Regions from separate parts of the Homo sapiens genome. Here all the other regions are linked to region 5. The links are contacts of gene promoters, found by promoter capture Hi-C in human tissues and cell types (Jung and others, 2019). All regions are on one chromosome and are shown on one strand. Each heading gives the region's core, a stretch centred on a gene start or on the middle of the fragment in contact. The rest is flanking DNA. Distances are from core to core; before and after follow the strand shown.

Region 1 (3,848 bases), core at 1,081-3,580, 150 kb after region 5:
GTCCTGGGATTACAGGCATGAGCCACTGTGCCCAGCGGCAGTTTGTGACATTAACGAAGGGAGTGTGTCAGTTATATTGAATACCACATACCAAAAACTCATAAAAGGAAGAAAATAATAAGTCAATTTATACTGCCTGCAGAATTCTAAACAATTCCCTCTTAAGAAAAAGGCCATAACTTGTAGTTACCACCCGTACACAACATAAGAACTGAAATACATGTTAAAATCACTACCTTCTGAAGTATGAGGTGAAGAAAATACACAGAATTATAAGGAATAAGAATTGACTAATGGCCGGCCACGGTGGCACATACCTGTAATCCCAGCATTTTGGTAGGCTGAGTCGGGTGGATCATGAGGTCAGGAGTTTGAGACCAGCCTGGAACAAATGGTAAAACCCCATCTCTATTAAAAATACAAAAAAAATTAGCTGGACGTGGTGGCAGGTGCATGTAATCCCAGCTACTTGGGAATCTGAGGCAGGAATCATTTGAACCCAGGAGGCGGAGGTTGCAGTGAGCCAAGATAGTGCCACTGCACTCTAGCCTGGGCAACAAGATGAGATTCCATCTCAAAAAAAATAAAATAAGATAAATAACTACTTCTCATATAAGCTTTGGTAGATGTGGTATTCTCTAATAGGATGTTCCTGCAGATGCAGACTTTGAGAGAATTTAGTCATGGGTGTTGACTCCTCATGAATAGGACTAGTGCATTTATAGAGACATTAAAGAGCTCATTGCCTGTTCCTCTTTCTACCATATTGGGACATGGCAGGAAGATGGCTGGGCTAAACCGTGAAGAAGCCTCTCACCAGGAATCAATTTGGCTGGCACCTTGCTCTTGGATTTCCCACTTTCCAAATTCATGAGAAATAAATTTCTGTGTCTTAAGCTTCCCAGTTTAAGCTACTTCCTTTTTCGTTTATTCTTCAGATCGAGTCACGCTCTTATCACCCAGGCTAGAGTGTACTGGCAGGATTCTCCTACCTCAACTGATTCTCCCTCCTCAGCCCAGAGTCTCACTCTGTTGCCCGGGCTGGAGTGCAGTGGCGTGATCTCAGCTCCCTGCAACCTCCACCTCATGGGTTCAAGTGATTCTCCTGCCTCAGCCTCCCAAGTAGCTGGGATTATAGGCGCAAGTCACCATGCACAGCTGGTTTTTGTGGTTTTAGTAGAGATGGGGTTTTACCATATTGGCCAGGCTTGTCTTGAACTCCTGACCTCAAGTGATCAACCTGTCTCAGCCTCCCAAAGTGCTGGGATTTTAGGTGTGAGCCACTGCGCCTGGCCCATTTTTGGCATTTAGTACATTCCAGGTTTCACCATGTTGGCCAGACTGTTTTCAAACTCCTGACCTCAAGCAATCTACCCACCTTGGTCTTTGAAAGTGCTAGGATTAGAGGCATGAGCCACCGTGGCCAGTCAGTCTAAGCTATTTCTAACAGTGAAATGACAGAGAAAGGAACAGGAGCATCTCATCATCAACATCACCACAGGCTGACAAATCTTATTAAACAAAGGATGTTTAGGGTCTCTACTATAAATCTTGCAATACTTGAAGCCATCTAATAGCACTAACATGTTTTAAAAACCTTGAGACATGTAGGGCATGGTAATCCCAGCATTTTGGGAGGATGAGGTGGGAGATTCCTGAGGTCAGGAGATCAAGACCATCCCAGCTAACAAGGTAAAACCCCATCTCTGCTAAAAAAAAATACAAAAAAATTAGCCTGGCATGTTGGCACTCGCCTGTAGTCCCAGCTACTTGAGAGGCTGAGGCAGGAGAATCACTGGAATTTGGGAAGTGGAGGTTGCAGTGACCCAAGATCACACCACTGCACTTTAGCCTGGGTGAGAGACTGAGACTGTGTCTCAAAGAAAAAATAAATAAATGACAGAAGGCTAAAGAATAACTCCAACCCACAAACATATATAAAGTTCTCCAGTAAAGGTAAATAAAAAAAACGGGTAGGCTGGGCATGGTGGTTCATGCCTATAATCCCAGCACTTTGGGAGGGCAAGCCAGGCGGATCACCTGGGGTCAAGGGTTCGAGACCAGCCTGGACAACAAGGAGTAAACCCTGTCTCTACCAAAAATACAAAATTAGGCCAGGCGTGGTGGCTCATGCCTGTAATCCCAGCACTTTGGGAGGCTGAGGTGGGTGGATCACAAGGTCAGGAGATCGAGACCATCCTGGCTAACACAGTGAAACCCCGTCTGAACTAAAAATACCAAAAATTAGCCAGGCATAGTGGCCAGCACCTGTAGTCCCAGCTACTCAGGAGGCTGAGGCAGGAGAACTGCTTGAACCTGGGAGGTGGAGGTTGCAGTGAGCTGAGATTGCACCATTGCACTCCAGCCTGGGAAACAGGAGTGAAACTCTGTCTCAAAAAAATAAATAAATAAATAAAACAATAAAAATACAAAATTAGCTGGGTGTGGTGGCGCATGCCTGTAATCCCAGCTACTCGACAGGCTGAGGCAGGAGAATTGGTTGAACCGGGGAGGTGGAGGTTGTGGTGTCAAGATTGCAGCACTGCACTTCAGCCTGGGTGACAAGAGCAAAACTCTGTCTCATAAATACATAAATTAATTAATTAATAAAAGGACAGATACAGAAACTCGCATACGTATACCTTTTCTTCATAACTAAACTTTTTTTCATATTATTAAAAATGAAAATGTATGAAAAAACACTGTACATATATGTTAACAGAAATGCAACATACACAAAAATAACTCTGACAAAAATAAAAAAGTTCTACTGGAGAAGAAGTAGTTTTTGTAGGTTATGGAATTTTTTTATTTTTATTTTTATTTTTTTGACATGGAGTCTCACTCTGTCTCCCAGGCTGGAGTGCAATGGTGCGATCTTGGCTCACTGCAACCTCCACCTCCCAGGTTCAAGTGACTCTCCTGCCTGAGCCTCCTGAGTAGCTGGGATTACAGCTGCCCACCACTGTGCCTGGCTAATTTTTGTAAATTTAGTACAGATGAAGTTTCATCATGCTACCCAGGCTGGTTCTGAACTCCTGACCTCAGGCGATCTGCCCACCTCGGCATCCCAGTGCTGGAATAACAGGTGTCAGCCACTGCACCTGGCCAGGTTATGGAAATTTTAAGCTTCATTATTGTGCTATAAGTTTAAGATGTTTAACATACCTGCAACAATAACCTCTCCCCATATATCAATACAACGCACTTCACTTCTGCGTACTGAACGGAATGGACACTAATGTGGTTGTTATATTCACACTGGAATCATGTTTAAACCACTTATGTTTACTAAGAACTAAAAGACAAAACTATTTAAAAGAATAACCATGGTTGGGCATGGCAGCTCGCGCCTGTAATCCCAGCATTTTGGGAAGCCGAAGCAGGTGAATCACTTGAGATAAGGAGTTTGAGACCAGCCTGAACAACATGGTGAAACCCCATCTCTACTAAAAACACAAAGTGAGCTGGGCATGGTGGTGAGCGCCTGCAGTCCCAGCCTCCAAGAAAGGTGGGGCACAAGAATCCTTTGAGCCTGAAAGGCAGAGGCTGCAGTTAGCCAAGATCGTTCCACTGCACTGTAGCCTGGATGAAAGAGTGAAACTATCAAAAGAAAAAGAAAGAAAAGAAGAAAGAAAGAAAGAAAAGAAAGAAAGAAGGAAGGAAGGAAGGAAGGAAGGAAGGAAAAGAAAAAACAAAACAAAAGAAAAGAAAAGAAGTAAATAAGGAAAGAGCAGAGGGATAAGTGAGGGCAAAGAAAGATGTCCCTTCAGAGATCTCAGGATTGAAACTTTTCTTTTGCCACAGAATTCTCCCACTTGCAGAGAGTTTCCCCACACACTATTTGA
Region 2 (3,458 bases), core at 535-3,034, 250 kb after region 5:
GTGAAAAAAAAAAAATAAGAGATTTAATGTTTAGAAACCACTCACTCCTTTCCTGTGACAAAACACACACACAGGGGAGACCTCACCCAGTAGGAAGATGGTCCTCTGCTGCCCACCACACCAGAGATCATGCCAAGATAACAAAGCCCCACAGGAAGACCTACAAGTGTAATTTTGACCCGTTTTCAGATCTTGCTCCCCTCCTGGAAAAGTCCACACACACACTGCAGCAGGACACAGACCTTCAGGGCACAGATCTGGCCCTAACCAAACCCCATGCAGAGCACAGCCCCCTCAGCTCCCTGTGGATCACAGGCTGATCTCAGCTCTCAACATGGAGGAAACTGCCTTGATTTTCAATGCTGGACACAGATGAGAATCACCTGCACCATTGTAAGAATTATTGAGGGTGGGTTTAATCCTATGATAATAGCAATCTCTGATAAAACAGCTTAAAAGATGTATTTGCAAAATGCCTGAGAACCCTAATGTGAAGCCAGGGTTGAGCTCCACTCAGACAGCGCCAGCCCAGCACAGCCCCACCTTCTGGCTCTGCTCTCCACTTCGGGACTTGTTCCCACCAGGATCCAGTGAAAAGCGAAGGAGCAAAAAGAATCACAAAGAACAGGCAACATGGACCAGAGGTGGGGGTGAAGGTGGAGCTGCCATGTCAAATGGGGGACTGTGGGTGATCACAAACGTTTCCATAGAGAAAGCAATGTCAGAACAAAGACTTAGGGATGAAACACTGCTTGTCACTTGTAGCTGAGGGGCCAGAGAGTCCTGGGCAGAGTGACATCTCAGGTGAAGGCACTGAGACAAAAGCAACCTCAGTCCCAGAAAAAGGAAAGAGGTGTGCGTGGCTGGAGCAGAGGGAGTGAGGAGGACACAGGCAGGAGATGACCTCAGAGAGGTCCTGGAAGTGAAGATCCCTAGGGACGAGGTCTTGAAACATTTTTCTCCCACACCTCAAAAGAATTTTGGAAATGATGTATTTCCTCACTCCTTTCATGTATACATGCAACTTTCTCTTTACATTGTAAGTTACAACACTCACAAATAGTGGAATTTATTTCCCATATTTAAAATACATGCTGTCAGTTTCAGCTAAGCTCCCAGAAGTACACTGTCGCCCTCATCTGAGAGGTGTAGGACTGCAAGGGAATGTGTTTGGGGGTTCAAGAAGTCACTTATGACTTCTTGACACATGAAGGTGGAGATGCCTGTTTGATGTCCCAGCAGAGAGCTGAAGAGACAACTGGACACAGAATTGTGGAGCTCAGGGGCGAGGCCTGCAGGGGACGTGGAGTCATACAGGTGGGCTAAAGCGGTGAGATGATAAGGTTCAAGGTGATTTGATTCTAATCTCATTTTTTCCTTCTTGTGCTTTTGTTTTTTACATTTTTGGAGGACTGAAATCCATTTAAAATTCAAATTACAGCTAAGCACCTCCCTGTCCTAAAGGAAAAGCCACACACTCCATTGTGCCCATCATTTCAGGGGTCAGTGTCACTCTGAGCTTTTCTGGTCTTCTCCCTCACCTGTATATTACAGGTGGGCTCAGTGAGGTTCACAGCGGGGGACGTTTCACCAAGTTATCCTGAGAAGCTCTGAGTTTTGTAAGAAGGAGGAGTCGCTGATTTTCATGTGATGGCCAGGAAGGGTCAACAGGCTGCGTTGGTCATCTTCCTCTATAAAATTCCAGGACTGGCCACATGTGGTGGCTCACTCCTGTAATTCCAGCACTTTGGAAGGCTGAAGCAAGTGGGTCAGTTGAGCCCAGGAGTTTGAGACAAACCTGGCAACATGGTGAAACTCCATCTCTAACGAAAGTACAGAAAATTAGCCAGACATGGTGGTGTGCATCTGTGGTCCCAGCTATTTGGCAGGCTGACTGGGGGGGATCACTTGGGCCTCAGAGGCAGAGGTTGCTGTGAGCCAAGATCGTGCCACTGTACTTAAGCATGGGTGACAGAGTAACACTCCATTTCAAAAAAAGGAAAAATATTCCAGGACCATCTTTTATATCCCCAAGCAAAAGAAATGTCTCTTTCAATGTCCAAAATTCTGATGGCACGAATCCTAAACATGTAAATATTTTCCCAGAAAAATGACAGTAATACATTCAAAATAAAAACAATTGTGAACACATAGCTATAGGTTTTTAAAACACTGAAAGAGAGGCAGTGGTAGAAATAAGCTGTGAGCAAATGTTTTCTTCATGAACACGTGGGCTCTGCTGAAACAAGGTTCCAAGTCAATCCAGCCCATCCTTCAACATCTGCAAAGAATATTATGGACCAGAGGAACTTGAGGAGAATGTTTACTTAGAAGGTCACAGTTCACCATTTTATCAGATGACATAAGGAAAGAAAGTAGAGTAACAGGCTACTTGAACTAAATTTTTATGTTAGCATAAAGAAAATAGGTCCTAGGGTCAGGCGTGGTGGCTCATACCTGAAATCCCAGCACTTTGGGAGGCCAGGGCAGGTGGATCACCTAAGGTCAGGAATTCGAGACCAGCCTGACCAACATGGAGAAACCCTGTCTCTACTAAAATTACAAAATTAGCTGGGTGTGGTGGTGCATGCCTGTAATCCCAACTATTTGGGAGGCTGAGGCAGGAGAACCACTTGTACCCTGGAGGCGGAAGTTGCGGTGAGCTGAGATCATGCCATTGCACTCCAGCCTGGGCAACAAGAGTGAAACTCCATCTCAAAAAAAAAAAAAAAAGAAAGAAAGAAAATAGATTCTTGACATCTTTATCAAATATGCATTGAAACAACCTAAAATCATTTATCAGGTACTAGAAAGTGTTTCCAATATGTGGTACAGACTAGAAAGCATGCAGTCTTCAATGTAAACTGGACACAATAAATTTCATAGAGAAACTATATTAAAATGGTTAAAAATATATACATCTAATGAAATGTGGGGTCAAAGGAGAAAATTTTGAACACATAGATAAAAACAATGATGTGAGGTTGGGTGTGGTGGCTCACGCCTGTAATCCCAGCACTTTGGGAGGCCAAGGTTGGCAGATCACAAGATCAGGAGTTTGAGACCAGCCTGGCCAATATGGTGAAACCCTGTCTCTACTAAAAATACAAAAATTAGCCTGGCATGGTGGCGGGGGCCTGTAGTCCCAGCTACTCGGGAGGCTAAGGCAGGAGAATCACTTGAACCTGAGAGGTGGAGGTTGCAGTGAGCCGAGATCGCGCCATTGCACTCCAGCCTGGGCAAAAGAATGAGACTCCATCTCAAAAAAAAAAATGATATGAGCTCATAAAATTCTACCAAAGCTTATTTGAGAAGTAGTTATTTATTTTATGTTTTTGAGATGGAGTCTTGCTCTGTCACCCAGGCTGGAGTGCAGTGACATGATCTCAGCTCACTGCAGCCTCTGCCTCCTGGGTTCAAGCGATTCTCCTGCCTCACCCTCCTGAGTAGCTGGGATT
Region 3 (3,509 bases), core at 966-3,465, 220 kb after region 5:
AACTCTCAACAGCGATTCCCCACTGAGACATGGGAATGGGTGGAAGGCTGGACAGGAAAGGGGATGCATAAGTGCACTTTTCTTTGGACTTTTACTACACAACACATATATACATCATGTGATGTTTAAAATAAAAGAATTACTTAATAATAATGGGTAGAAAAAGAATGGCTCCATCCTCTCTAACGACGTAAGTTGTGCTCTTATGTCAGAGCAAACTTATAATCATTTTTACCTAAAATGTTTGCTTCATCAGAGTCCCTGTAAAAAAAACAAAACAAAACAAAAAACAAAAAAAAAGTCTCTGTGGGGTCAAAGTGCTGAGAATGATTTAAAGAATCCCCTGCAGTTAGATATTTATATTGATTTCATAATTTGAAGTCAATGATGGAATAAAGCTAACTCTATTACTGGTATCTATATCCGCTTTCCATTCTATTCTAAGACATTGAAAGTGCAGAGTCCTGCTGGGCTGTCTCACACCTGTAATCCCAGCAATTTGGGAAGCTCAGGTGGGAGGGCCACTTAAGCCCAGGAGTTCGAGGCTGCTGTAAACTAGAATTGTGCCATTGCACTCCAGACTGGGCCCCAGAGTGACACCGTGTCTCTTAAAACAAAAGTTTGGCGTCAGAGACATATTGACTCACTAGTGTAGCTTCAAATGCATTACAAAATCAGACACAAAATATCTCCCCTAGTTTGTCTCCTCTTCCAGAATTTACCAGATTAACCAGTGAACATTAATGTATGACTTTCATATACAGTTTCTCTGATCTGGTCCACAAAGAGCTAAACATGCATCCAGATGTGGCCCCTGAACAATCCCTGCTGCCCAACATCACTGACACCATGGGGCCCACACCCCATCTCCATCCATGTCTGGTGTGAGCCCTTCCCAGGACCATGCCCAGTGGAGCCTCTTCCCAAGCTCATGTCACTAGGTTATAGGAGATGGAATTTAAGTGAAGATGAGAGGGACTGAGAAAAGACACGGGTGAGTGCGAGCAAACGTGTGATGTAGAATGCTTCACACTCAGAGAAGATTGGCTACTACAATACCTGGCACTTCAGAAAGGAAAGAGACAGAAGAATCCACCAAGGAATATCACTTACCTGAGGAAGAGCCATCCCTGGCTCCTTTTCTTTGCTCTTCTTGGTGGCTTCCTCACGTAACATGAGTCTTTGGAAATCCTGTATGTTAAAAAAGCAAGAGATTTAATATTTAGAAACCATTGACTCCTTTCCTGTGACAAAACACACACACAGGGGAAACCTCACCCGAGAGAAAGATGGTCCTTTGCTACCCACTGCACCAGAGACCATGCAGAGATAAGAAAGTTCCACAGGAAGACCTACAAATGTAATTTTGACCCGTTTTCAGATCTTGCTCCCCTCCTGGAAAAGTCCACACACACGCTGCAGCAGGACACAGATCTTCAGGGCACAGATCTAGCCCTAACCAAACTCCATGCAGAGCACAGCCCCCTCACCTCCCTGTGGATCACAGACTGATCTCAGCTCTCAACATGGAGGAAACTTCCTTGATGTTTAATGCTGGACACAGATAAGAATCACCAGTGCCATTGTAAGTATTATTGAGTGTGGGTCCCATCCTATTATAATAGCAATCTGATAAAACAGCATGCCTGTAATCCCAGCATTTTGGGAGGCCGATGCAGCTGGATCCCTTCAGCTCTGGGGTTGGACACCAGCCTGAGCAACATGGCGAAAGCCCATCTCTACGAAGAACACAAAAATTAGTGTGGTGTGGTGGCACGCAGCTGTGGTCCCAGCTACTCTGGAGGCTGAGGTAGGAAGCAGACCACCACTTCTCCTGCTGCCTTCCTCCCTCCCCCTTGCCTAGTTTATAAGACAGGAGGAAAGGAAGAAAGCAAAAAGTTAGAAAGAAACAGAAGTAAGATAAATAGCCAGACGACCTTGGTGCTACCACCTGGCCCCGGTGGTTAAAAATAATAATAATACCAACCCCTGACCTAAACTACTTATGTTATCTGTAAATTCTAGACATTGTATGAAGAAGCATTGCAAAAGTTTCTGTTCTGTTAGCTGATGCACGTAGTGTCAAGTCACATTCCCCACACTTGCTTGATCTATCATGACCCTTTCACGTGGATGCCTTAGAGCTGTAAGCCCTTAAAAGGGCCAGGAATTTCTTTTTCAGGGAGCTCAGTTCTTGAGACACGAGTCCTCTGATGCGCTGGGCCGAATAAAGCCACTTCCTTCTTTAATCCGTTGTCTGAGAGGTACTGTCTGCGGCTCGTCATGCTACATTTCTTGGTTCCCTGACTTGGAAGCGAGGTAATTAACAGAAGGTCGAGGCAACCCCTTAGGTGACTTAGGCCTGCCCTTTGGAGCATCCCTGCTGGGTACTCCAGCCAGCTTGGGCGACATGGATTCTGAGAGTGCTACCAGGTAGGCATGTGCCCCAGAAAGATACTTAGCCTGGCCATCCGAACTTGCAGTGTAACCAGTGTGCTTACTGTAAAGAAATAGGATATTAGAAGGACAAGTGCCCTCAGCTAAAAGGAAAACAAGGTGGCTCAGAGCAGGAGGCCCCAGAAGGAGCCCTGTTCAATATAGCAGAAGAGTTACTGAACTGAGGAGGACCAGGCTCAACTGCCCCCAAGGAGCCCATGGTCAAGATGACAGTTAGGGGCAAAGACATTGATTTTCGTATTGATACCAGTGCTGAACATTCAGTAGTAACCGCCCCGGTTGCCCCCCTTTCCAAAAAGACTATTGTTATAATCGGAGCCATGGGAGTTTTATCAAAGCAAGCTTTCTGTTGCCCCAGACTTGTACTGTAGGAAGACATAAAGTGATTCACCAGTTCTTGTACATGCCTGACTTGAAAGGACTTGAAAGGACTTGCTTAGCGAGCTGAGAGCCACCGTCTCTTCTACAGAGCACAGCTCTTTACAGCTAAGGTTACCCAGAACGGGAGTCATTATGGCCCTTACAGTCCCCCAGGAAGAGGAATGGAGACTTCTTTTAACTGAGCCAGGCCAAGAGATAAGACCAACTCTGGCTAAGCGGTGGCCAAGGGTGTAGACAGAAGACAACCCTCCAGGGATGGCAGTTAACCAAGCCCTGGTACTTATAGAAGTTAAGCGTAGGGCCCAGCCAGTCAGGCAAAAACAGTACCTGGTCCCCAGAGAAGATCTTGAAAGTATCCAGGTCCATCTCAAGAGCCTGAGAGCCTTTAGAATTACAGTCCCTTGTCAGTCTCCCTGGAACACTCCCCTCCTGCCTGTTCCCACGCCAGGGACCAATGACTACAGGCCGGTACAGGACTTGCACTTAGTCAATCAAGCTACAGTGACTTTACATCCAACAGTACCTAACCCGTACACGTTAAGGTTGCTGCCAGCTGAGGACAGCTGGTTCTCTGGCTTAGACCTGAAAGACACTTTCTTTAGCATTAGACTAGCCCCTCAGAGCCAGAAGCTGTTTGCCTTTCAGTAGGAAGATCTGGGATCAGGTGTCAC
Region 4 (3,932 bases), core at 725-3,224, 130 kb before region 5:
AAGTAGCTGGAACTACAGGCATGCATCACCACCATACTAGGCTAATTTCTGCATTTTTGGTAGAGACGGGGTTGTGCCATGTTGGCCAGGCTGGTCTCGAACTCCTGACCTCAGGTGTTTTTCCTGCCTCGGCCTCCCAAAGTGCTGAAATTACAAGTGTGAGTCACCACGCCAGGCCCCTCTGCTCTTTAGATGTGTAGTAGTTTGATTTTTTTGTCCTCTAGTGATGCTGCAGCTCAGAGACAAAGGCAGAATCTTTATCCTGATGGGCAACACCGTGTCATCTGGCTTCTGTGACCTCATTGGTTTCTTGACTCTGGAACAGGGAGGGCTGTGTCAAAGGGGTCTCCTTCCCCTGTGGTCTCTCATTCTGTACTTGACTCCTTCTGACGCTCCATTCTCTGTCCCTATAGATAAGATCTGAGGCCTCCATACACCTACCCCTTGACCTACCAGGTTCCATCCCATTTCCTGTACTTGGAACACCTAATCAAGAGATCGGAAAACCTGGGCTGCTCCTCCTTTGCAACCGGGGCCCGGGATACTGCACAGAGCCCTCTCTGCTTGTTCAAATAGTTGGCTTGCCTATTTGAAGTAGGAAAAAAAGGCCATGCGCGGTGGCTCATGCCTGTAATCCCATCATTTTGAGAGGCTGAGGAGGGCGGATCACTTCAGGTCGGGAGTTTGAGACCAGCCTGGCCAACATGGTGAAACTCCGTCTCTACTAAAAATACCAAAAGTAGCCGGGTGTGGTGGTGGGTGCCTGTAATCCCAGCTACTCGGGAGACTGAGGCAGAAGAATCTCTCGAACCCGGGAGGTGGACTCTGCAGTGAGCTGAGATTCCGACACTGCACTTTAGCCTGGGCAACAAAGAAAGACTCCACCCCCCGCCAAAAAAAAGAAATACAAAAAAAAAAAAAGTGTTTTTCCTACTCTCTCATGCCACTGAGCACAGAATGCCTCAGTTCTGATCACCAAAATTTGTGGATTTCTCCCCAACCACATCTTGGAGTGCAATGGTGTGATCTTGGCTCACCACAAACTCTGTTTCCTGGGTTGAGATGATTCTCCTGCCTCAGCCTCCTGAGTATCTGGCAAAAGAGCAAGACCTCATCTCAAAATAAAATAAAATATGTGAGAACAAAATTACTCAAAGTACAAAAGGCTAATCAGAGACTCAAAGAAAACAACCATTTGTCTCTTATTTACCTATGTCCTGGAATCCACCCCCCACCCCGCTTTGGGTTGTTCCACCTTTCCCGACTTAACCAACGTACATCTGACACTTACTGATACGTCATGACTCCCTAAAATGTAAGCTCTACCTAGACCATATTGGGCACATGACATTAGGACCTCTTGAGCCTGTGTCGTGGGCATGCAGTTAACCTTGGCAAGATAAACTTTCTAAACTGATTGAGATTTGTCTCAGATACTTCGTTCACAAACTATTTTTAAAGTCCCAGGTAATTTATTTTAGCAGCTAAAAGAAAAATCTTGGCTGGCACGTTGGCTCATGCCTGTAATCCCAGCACCTTGGGAGGCCAAGGCGGTTGGATCACAAGGTCAGGAGTTCAAGATCATCCTGGCCAACATGGTGAAACCTTGTCTCTACTACAAATACAAAAATTAGTGGGCATCTTGGCATGTGCCTGTAATCCCCGCTACCTCAGAGGCTGAGGCTGGAGAATCGCTTGATCCAGGGAGTCATGGGTTGCAGTGAGCCGAGATTGTGCCACTTCACTCTAGCCTGGTGACAGAGAAGACTGTCCAAAAAAAAAAAAAAAAAAAAAAAAAAAAAAAAAAAAAGCTGGTTTCAGGGGTTTCTGGTTACAACAGGAAGTTTCAGCAGCCATACTTCAGAGAATCACGTTCTTGAAGCAATGTTTGTATCCTGAGTTCATTTTTCATCTGTCCTCTTGACTTTGGTTTAGTTGTGAGGCAGCCTCATTTTCTGGGGTAATACCTGATGTTCGTTGTCTCATGGCCACGGAAATCGAGGACACGGACACCCAAGAGTGGCGTTAAGAGTGGAAGTTCAATAGGCGAAAGAAAGTCAATAGCTCTCTGCTACAGAGAGAGGTCCTGGAAAAATGGTTTGCAGATTCGTGGCAAAACGTAGGGGTTTTATAGATGAGCTGGTGGGGAGGTAGTGTCTTATCTACATAGGACCAGATGTAACATTTGCATACGGCATGAATTTCTGGCAGCCCCCTCCCCAATCTTTTATTATGCAGGTTCTTTGCCTGAGCTGTGCCATGTTACCCATTTCTTTCTTACTGTACACGTGCTAACAAAAAAGGAAAGACGGAGCTTCCATGGTGGACATGCCTAGCCCCAAGGTAGCCCCTTTTCTATTGGCACAGCTGCTGACTTCCCCCATGCAAGCTTCCAGCTTGCTTACGTATGTTTGCAGATCGATTTTTCGGGCTGCTCTTTGTTAGAACAAAACGATATTTTGGGCAGCTTTTTGTTAGAAGGGAAGCTCTGCAGAGGAGTTTTTGCCCTTACTGTCTGCCTAAATAGTTTATTTTTACCTCCTGTATAAGTTGGATGTGGCAAGAGTGACCCAATTGATAAGATGAACTTTTATCACGGCAGAATTTTAAATTCACTTTACGTGCATTCTGCAAGTAACTAGAAAAGATACTTTTTATTTGCAAATTATAAGGTGTTTTGTTTGTTTGTTTGTTGTTATTTGAGACAATCTCACTGTGTCACCCAGGCTGGAGTGCAGTGGTGCGATCTCGACTCACTGCAACTCCCGCCTCCCAGGTTCAAGCAATTTTCCTGCTTCAACCTCCTGAGTAGCTGGGATTACAGGTGTGGGCCACCATGCCCGGCTAATTTTTGTATTTTTAGTAGAAACGGCATTTCGCTATGTTGGCCAGGCTGGTCTTGAACTCCTGTCCTCAAGTGATCTGCCTGCCTCGGCCTCCCAACGTGCTGGGATTACAGGCATGAGCCACCACACCTGGCCAATTATAAGGTATTTTATTTTTTATTATTTTTATTATTATTTTTTGAGACGGAGTCTCAGTCTGTCACCCAGGCTGCAGTGCAGTAGCACGATCTTGCCTCACTGCATCCTCCTTCTCCTGGGTTCCAGCAATTCTCCTGCCTCTGCCTCCCGAGTAGCTGGGATTACAGCCATAAGCCATTACTCCCAGCTAAGTTTTTTTTGTCTTTTTAGTAGAGATGGGATTTCACCATATTGGCCAGTCTAGTCTTTAACTCCTGACCTGGTGATCTGCGTGCCTTGGCCTCCCAAAATGCTAGGATTATAGGCTTGAGCCACCGCACCCGGCCCTGTAAGTTATTTTATACCTTTTCTTTGTTTTTCTTTCTGTCAGGTGTGGTAAGAAAACCTGTAACATAGATAGCCTTCAGAATATATTTGGATTTACTGTGGAGTCCTAATTAGGGAAAAGGAGTCTGGCTAGTGGGAACAGGGGGAAAGCAAAGAGATAAGGCAAATAAGCTATTTAAAAAACTAAACATTGAGCTACCATATCATCCAGCAAGCCCAGTGCTGGGTATATATACCCAGCACTAGGCTAAATACAAGAAATAAAAGAAATCAGTATATTGTGTGTATACTTATAGACAATGAAGTAATGTTCAGCCGTCAAAAAGTATGGCATCCTGTCATTTCCAACAACATGGATGCAACTGGAGAGAGATATATATATATATAAATATATATAATATATAAAAAATATATAATATATATAAATATATATTATATATAAAAAATATATATAATATATATTATATAAAATATATATGTAATATATATTATATATAAAATATATAATACATAAAATATATATGTAATATATATTATATATAAAATATATAATACATAAAATATATATTATATATGTAATATATATAATCTATATATAATATAGATTATATATATATATTT
Region 5 (3,892 bases), core at 607-3,106:
CATCTGTGTAATTTAAACAAGTTTTTAGTTATTAGATTATATATACAGAACTCAACATGTCACAACCAATCATATCCAATGAACTCACCCACTCATCTGAACCCAGTCTCTCGCCCCTTTTTTTTTGTTTGGAGACAAGGTCTCGCTCTGACGACCAGGCTGCAGTGTAGTCACATGATCTCAGCTCACTGCAGCCTGGACCTCCTGGGCTCAAGTCATCCTCCCAGCTTGGCCACCAGAGCAGCTGGGAGTACAGGTGCACACCATTATGCCCGGTTATTTACTTACTTTTTTGGCGGGGGGGAGGTCTCACTATGTTGCCCAAGCTGGTCTCGAACTCCTGGACTCAAGCAATCCCCTTGCCTCAGTCTCCTAAAGTGTGGAGACTACAGACTACAGGCGTGAGCCACTGTGTCCAGACCCTCTTTCTTCATTACTGTGCTTCCCTCCCTAATTCTGTACATATCTCTCATTCTCCCCTTCTCTCTCTAGCTCTTGTTTTCTTTTCTTTTTCCCTGGGATTCTGCTCTTCATTTTGTACCCCTCTCCTCTCCTGCTATTCATCCCCTTCTTCCCTTTATTCCTTCTCTTCCACCTCTTCTCCTCCATCCTCACAACTTATTTAACCTCTTATTGCTCCTTCTCCCCAATCTTTCAATCGTCCTCAATCTCCATCTATTTCTGCCTCTTCTCCCATCTCTGCGCCTCCTCTGCTCTCCCTGTTAAATTCCATCTTCCCCGATATACTCCCTTGTCCCCACTCTGTGTCTCCCCAGATCCCAGCTGTCCTCTCTGCTGTGGTTCTCCCTCTGTTCTCCTTGACACAAGCACCACTCTGCTCTGTCTGCCCTGGCTCCAAATCCTTCCCTCTCTCCCTCACTCTGATGAGTCTCCCTCTTTGCTGCCACTCCCCCTACCTTGTGATCCTTCATCTCTCTGTACATCTATCTAGCCTTTCTCTACATTTCTCCGGTTGCTTTTCTCCTCCTGCTTTCTTAGGTTTTTTTTTTTTTTTTTCACTTCTGCCATCTCTTGGCATATCCCTCACCAATCCTCTATTTTGCCATCTGTTATGGGCCTTTCTTATTCTTCTTTTCTCTGCCTCAGGTTTTCTACTGCTCTCTGTCTCCTGATTCCTTTGGCCCACACAATCGCAACACGGTTTGGAGTAAGACGCCTGCATCCCGGAGGAGCGCATTTTCCACGCCCTGGAGCTCCGCAGGCAAGAATACCCCGTGCCGCAGGACAGGCCCCTGGGACCTCCCCAGTGCAGGTTCAATGAAAGCGGTGACTGCGGAGGGGAGACCTGGGGAGCAGCAGGCCCCGGCATGAGGAGGAAGGTGCGGGGCGGGGGGGGGGGGCGCGACGGCGCCTTAGGACCAGGATGGGGTCTGCAGGATCCCAGGACCTGGCAGAGGACTCGGCCTCCCCGGGACTGGGGCTGCGGCGCGGCGCTCCCGGGGCTGAGGAGGGGGAGGCTGGGAGGCGCCCTGGGCAAGAATCCACATCGCGGGTGAAGACTTTAAAAAGCGCGGGGCGCGAGGAGTCAGAACAAGGTTTTCAGCAGGAAAACTACGCAACAGAAAGTGTATACATTGACCTATAGCAGAAAGACCGGGGACGAGACCAGCCTCAGGACGACTTTAAACCCAAAAGGAAGCGACCCTCGGGCTCTCACGGGGATGTCTCAATTTGCTCTGGGCAAAGGAAGACGCCGGAGAATTTCCAGGTCTGTGGGGACCCCACGTCCCAGGGACAGAAGCCCTGGGAACCTAGTTAGCGCAGACTTAATACAACACAGAGCAAAACTCACCGCGGCGATATGACCTACACTCCACCCGATCCGCTTCCGGGTTTGCGTTAATCTGCGCGCGCAGGACAAAAGCCAGGCCTGGGCGGGAAGTGGGAGGTAGGCGGGGCCTGGGCGAGGTAGGGGCGGGGCGCGAGGCGGAGAGACCTTGCCTTTTAGAACCGGCAGAGGGCAGGGCCGGGGCGGGATCTGCGCGTCTCTCAGCCTCGCTCCCAGCGTCTCTGTTTTCAGGTTTTGGAGGCGAGAGCGCCAGAAAGTCTGAGGCATGATACAAAAGCCCTGTTGAGAGAAGAGAGAGACCCTCTGACATTGTTTTATATTGTTTTATAGTCAGTAAAAACAACAGGAAGTAAAACCAAAGACAGGCAGCCCCGCGCCAGGCCCGAAACCAGGCCTGGATCCGCCTGGCCTAAACCCAGTAGTTAAAAATCAACTTATGATTTAGAAGCTGATGTTAGGCATAGATTCCAGACATTGTATAGAAGAACACGGTGAAACTCCTGCCCTGTTCTCTCTCTCCCTGATCACCGGTGCATGCAGCCCCTGTCACGTATCCCTTGCTTGCTCAATCAGTCACTATCCTTTCATCTGAAATCTTTAGTGTTGTGAGCCCTTAAAAGGGACAGAAATTGTGCACTCGGGGAGCTTGGATTTTAAGGCAGTAGCTTGCCAATGCTCCCAGCTGAATAAAGCCCTTCCTTCTACAACTCGGTGTCTGAGAGGTTTTGTCTGCGACTCGTCCTGCTACACTGTAATTGTCTGGAACAGGGATACAAACTAGAATGTGAAATGCAAAGCCCTGCCTGGGCGGTATGTACCATGTCATGCTGAGGTCCCACAGAACAGATAGATATCCTCTCCCTTTCTATTGTCCATTCACTCCGGAAGGAGACTCCGCCCTGTGCTCAGCTTCAGAGACTTCCCTGAAGCCACCGCCTGGAATGCCGGACGGAGTGCTCAGGCCGAGAAGGAGTGAGGTCACCACCTGCTGCTTAAAGACAGCAGAGGCGCGGGGGCGGGAGCCTGAGGTCCCAGCTACTCAGGAAGCAGCGGCGGGAGGATCCCTGAGCCTCGGGTTCCAAGCCAGCCTGAGCGACAAAATAACGCCCACTGCCGCGGTCTCCCTTTCTTGTCTCTCTCTCTCTCTTTTTTTTTAAAAAAAACTTTCGCAAATAAAATTTTTGATTGTGTGACATAGGGATCCAACATTATTCTTTTCCATGTGGATATCCAGATAGTTGTCCTAGCACATTTATGGAAGAGATCTATTACTTTCTTGTATTATTATTATTATTATTATTATTATTATTATTATTTTTGAGACAGAGTATTTCTCTGTTGCCCAGGCTGGAGTGCAGTGGCGAGATCTCGACTAAATGCATCCTCTGCCTCCTGGGTTCAAGCGATTCTCCTGCCCCAGCCTTGGGAACAGCTGGCATTACAGGCGTGCGCCACCATGCCAGGCTAATTTTTGTATTTTTAGTAGAGACGGGGTTGACCATGTTGACCAGGCCGGTATCGGACTCCTCACTCCAAGTTATTTGCCTGCCTCAGCCTCCTAAAGTGCTGGGGTTACGGCGTGAGCCAACATGCCTGGCTAATTTTTTGTATTTTTAGTAGAGATGGGATTTCATCGAGTTAGCCAGGACGGTCTCTATCTCCTGACCTTGTGATCCGCCCGCGTCGGCCTCCCAAAGTGCTGGGATTACAGGCGTGAGCCACCGCGCCCGGCCAGAAATATTCTTTTTTTTTTTTTTTTTTTTTTTAAACGGAGTCTCACTCTGTCGCCCAGGCTGGAGTGCAGTGGCGCAATCTCGACTCACTGCAAGCTCCGCCTCCCGGGTTCACGCCATTCTCCTGCCTCAGCCTCCGGAGTAGCTGGGACCACAGGCTCCCGCTACCACGCCTGGCTAATTTTTTTGGGTTTTTTTTTTTTTGTATTTTTTTTTAGTAGAGACGGTGTTTCACCATGTTGGCCAGGATGGTCTCGATCTCTAGACCTCGTGATCCACCCGCCTCCGCCTCCCAAACTGCTGAGATTACAGGCGTGAGCCACCGTGCCATGCCGCAGAAATATTCTTT

What was found. Contacts are between HindIII fragments. The study calls those that stand out against the background at their distance.
Region 1: a contact is called between a fragment that was not itself captured here and the fragment with the promoter of ZNF611 in region 5, in 1 of the 25 tissues and cell types used here (spleen).
Region 2: a contact is called between a fragment that was not itself captured here and the fragment with the promoter of ZNF611 in region 5, in 1 of the 25 tissues and cell types used here (adrenal gland).
Region 3: a contact is called between a fragment that was not itself captured here and the fragment with the promoter of ZNF611 in region 5, in 1 of the 25 tissues and cell types used here (mesenchymal stem cells).
Region 4: a contact is called between a fragment that was not itself captured here and the fragment with the promoter of ZNF611 in region 5, in 1 of the 25 tissues and cell types used here (adrenal gland).

What each region holds. Positions count from the first base shown.
Region 1 is chr19:52,883,323-52,887,170 of GRCh38, forward strand. The region is part of intron 5 of ZNF320 (zinc finger protein 320); the gene reads right to left. Among named protein-coding and RNA genes, the nearest start is that of ZNF320, 12 kb to the right of the region's middle. The HindIII fragment of the contact is 3,146 bases long and covers 758-3,848 here.
Region 2 is chr19:52,980,979-52,984,436 of GRCh38, forward strand. LOC105372453 (a long non-coding RNA gene) reads left to right here and starts at 1,231. Exons shown (of 2, transcript XR_936062.3): 1 at 1,231-1,317. It also overlaps the pseudogene ZNF702P. The HindIII fragment of the contact is 6,260 bases long and covers 1-3,458 here.
Region 3 is chr19:52,954,914-52,958,422 of GRCh38, forward strand. ZNF816-ZNF321P (ZNF816-ZNF321P readthrough) reads right to left here. Exons shown (of 4, transcript NM_001202473.2): 2 at 1,114-1,191. The coding sequence starts at 1,176. It overlaps ZNF816 (zinc finger protein 816), which reads right to left. Exons shown (of 4, transcript NM_001202457.3): 2 at 1,114-1,191. The coding sequence starts at 1,176. Among named protein-coding and RNA genes, the nearest start is that of ZNF816, 6.2 kb to the right of the region's middle. The HindIII fragment of the contact is 5,247 bases long and covers 1-3,509 here.
Region 4 is chr19:52,604,563-52,608,494 of GRCh38, forward strand. All of the region lies in intron 1 of LOC137778871 (a long non-coding RNA gene), which reads left to right. Among named protein-coding and RNA genes, the nearest start is that of ZNF83, 32 kb to the right of the region's middle. The HindIII fragment of the contact is 6,396 bases long and covers 1-3,932 here.
Region 5 is chr19:52,733,188-52,737,079 of GRCh38, forward strand. ZNF611 (zinc finger protein 611) reads right to left here and starts at 1,857. Exons shown (of 6, transcript NM_001161499.2): 1 at 1,814-1,857. It overlaps LOC124904760 (a long non-coding RNA gene), which reads left to right and starts at 844. Exons shown (of 2, transcript XR_007067328.1): 1 at 844-1,273; 2 at 1,607-2,517. RefSeq lists enhancers at 1,845-2,830, 2,143-2,272 and a silencer at 1,893-1,962. The HindIII fragment of the contact is 18,911 bases long and covers 1-3,892 here.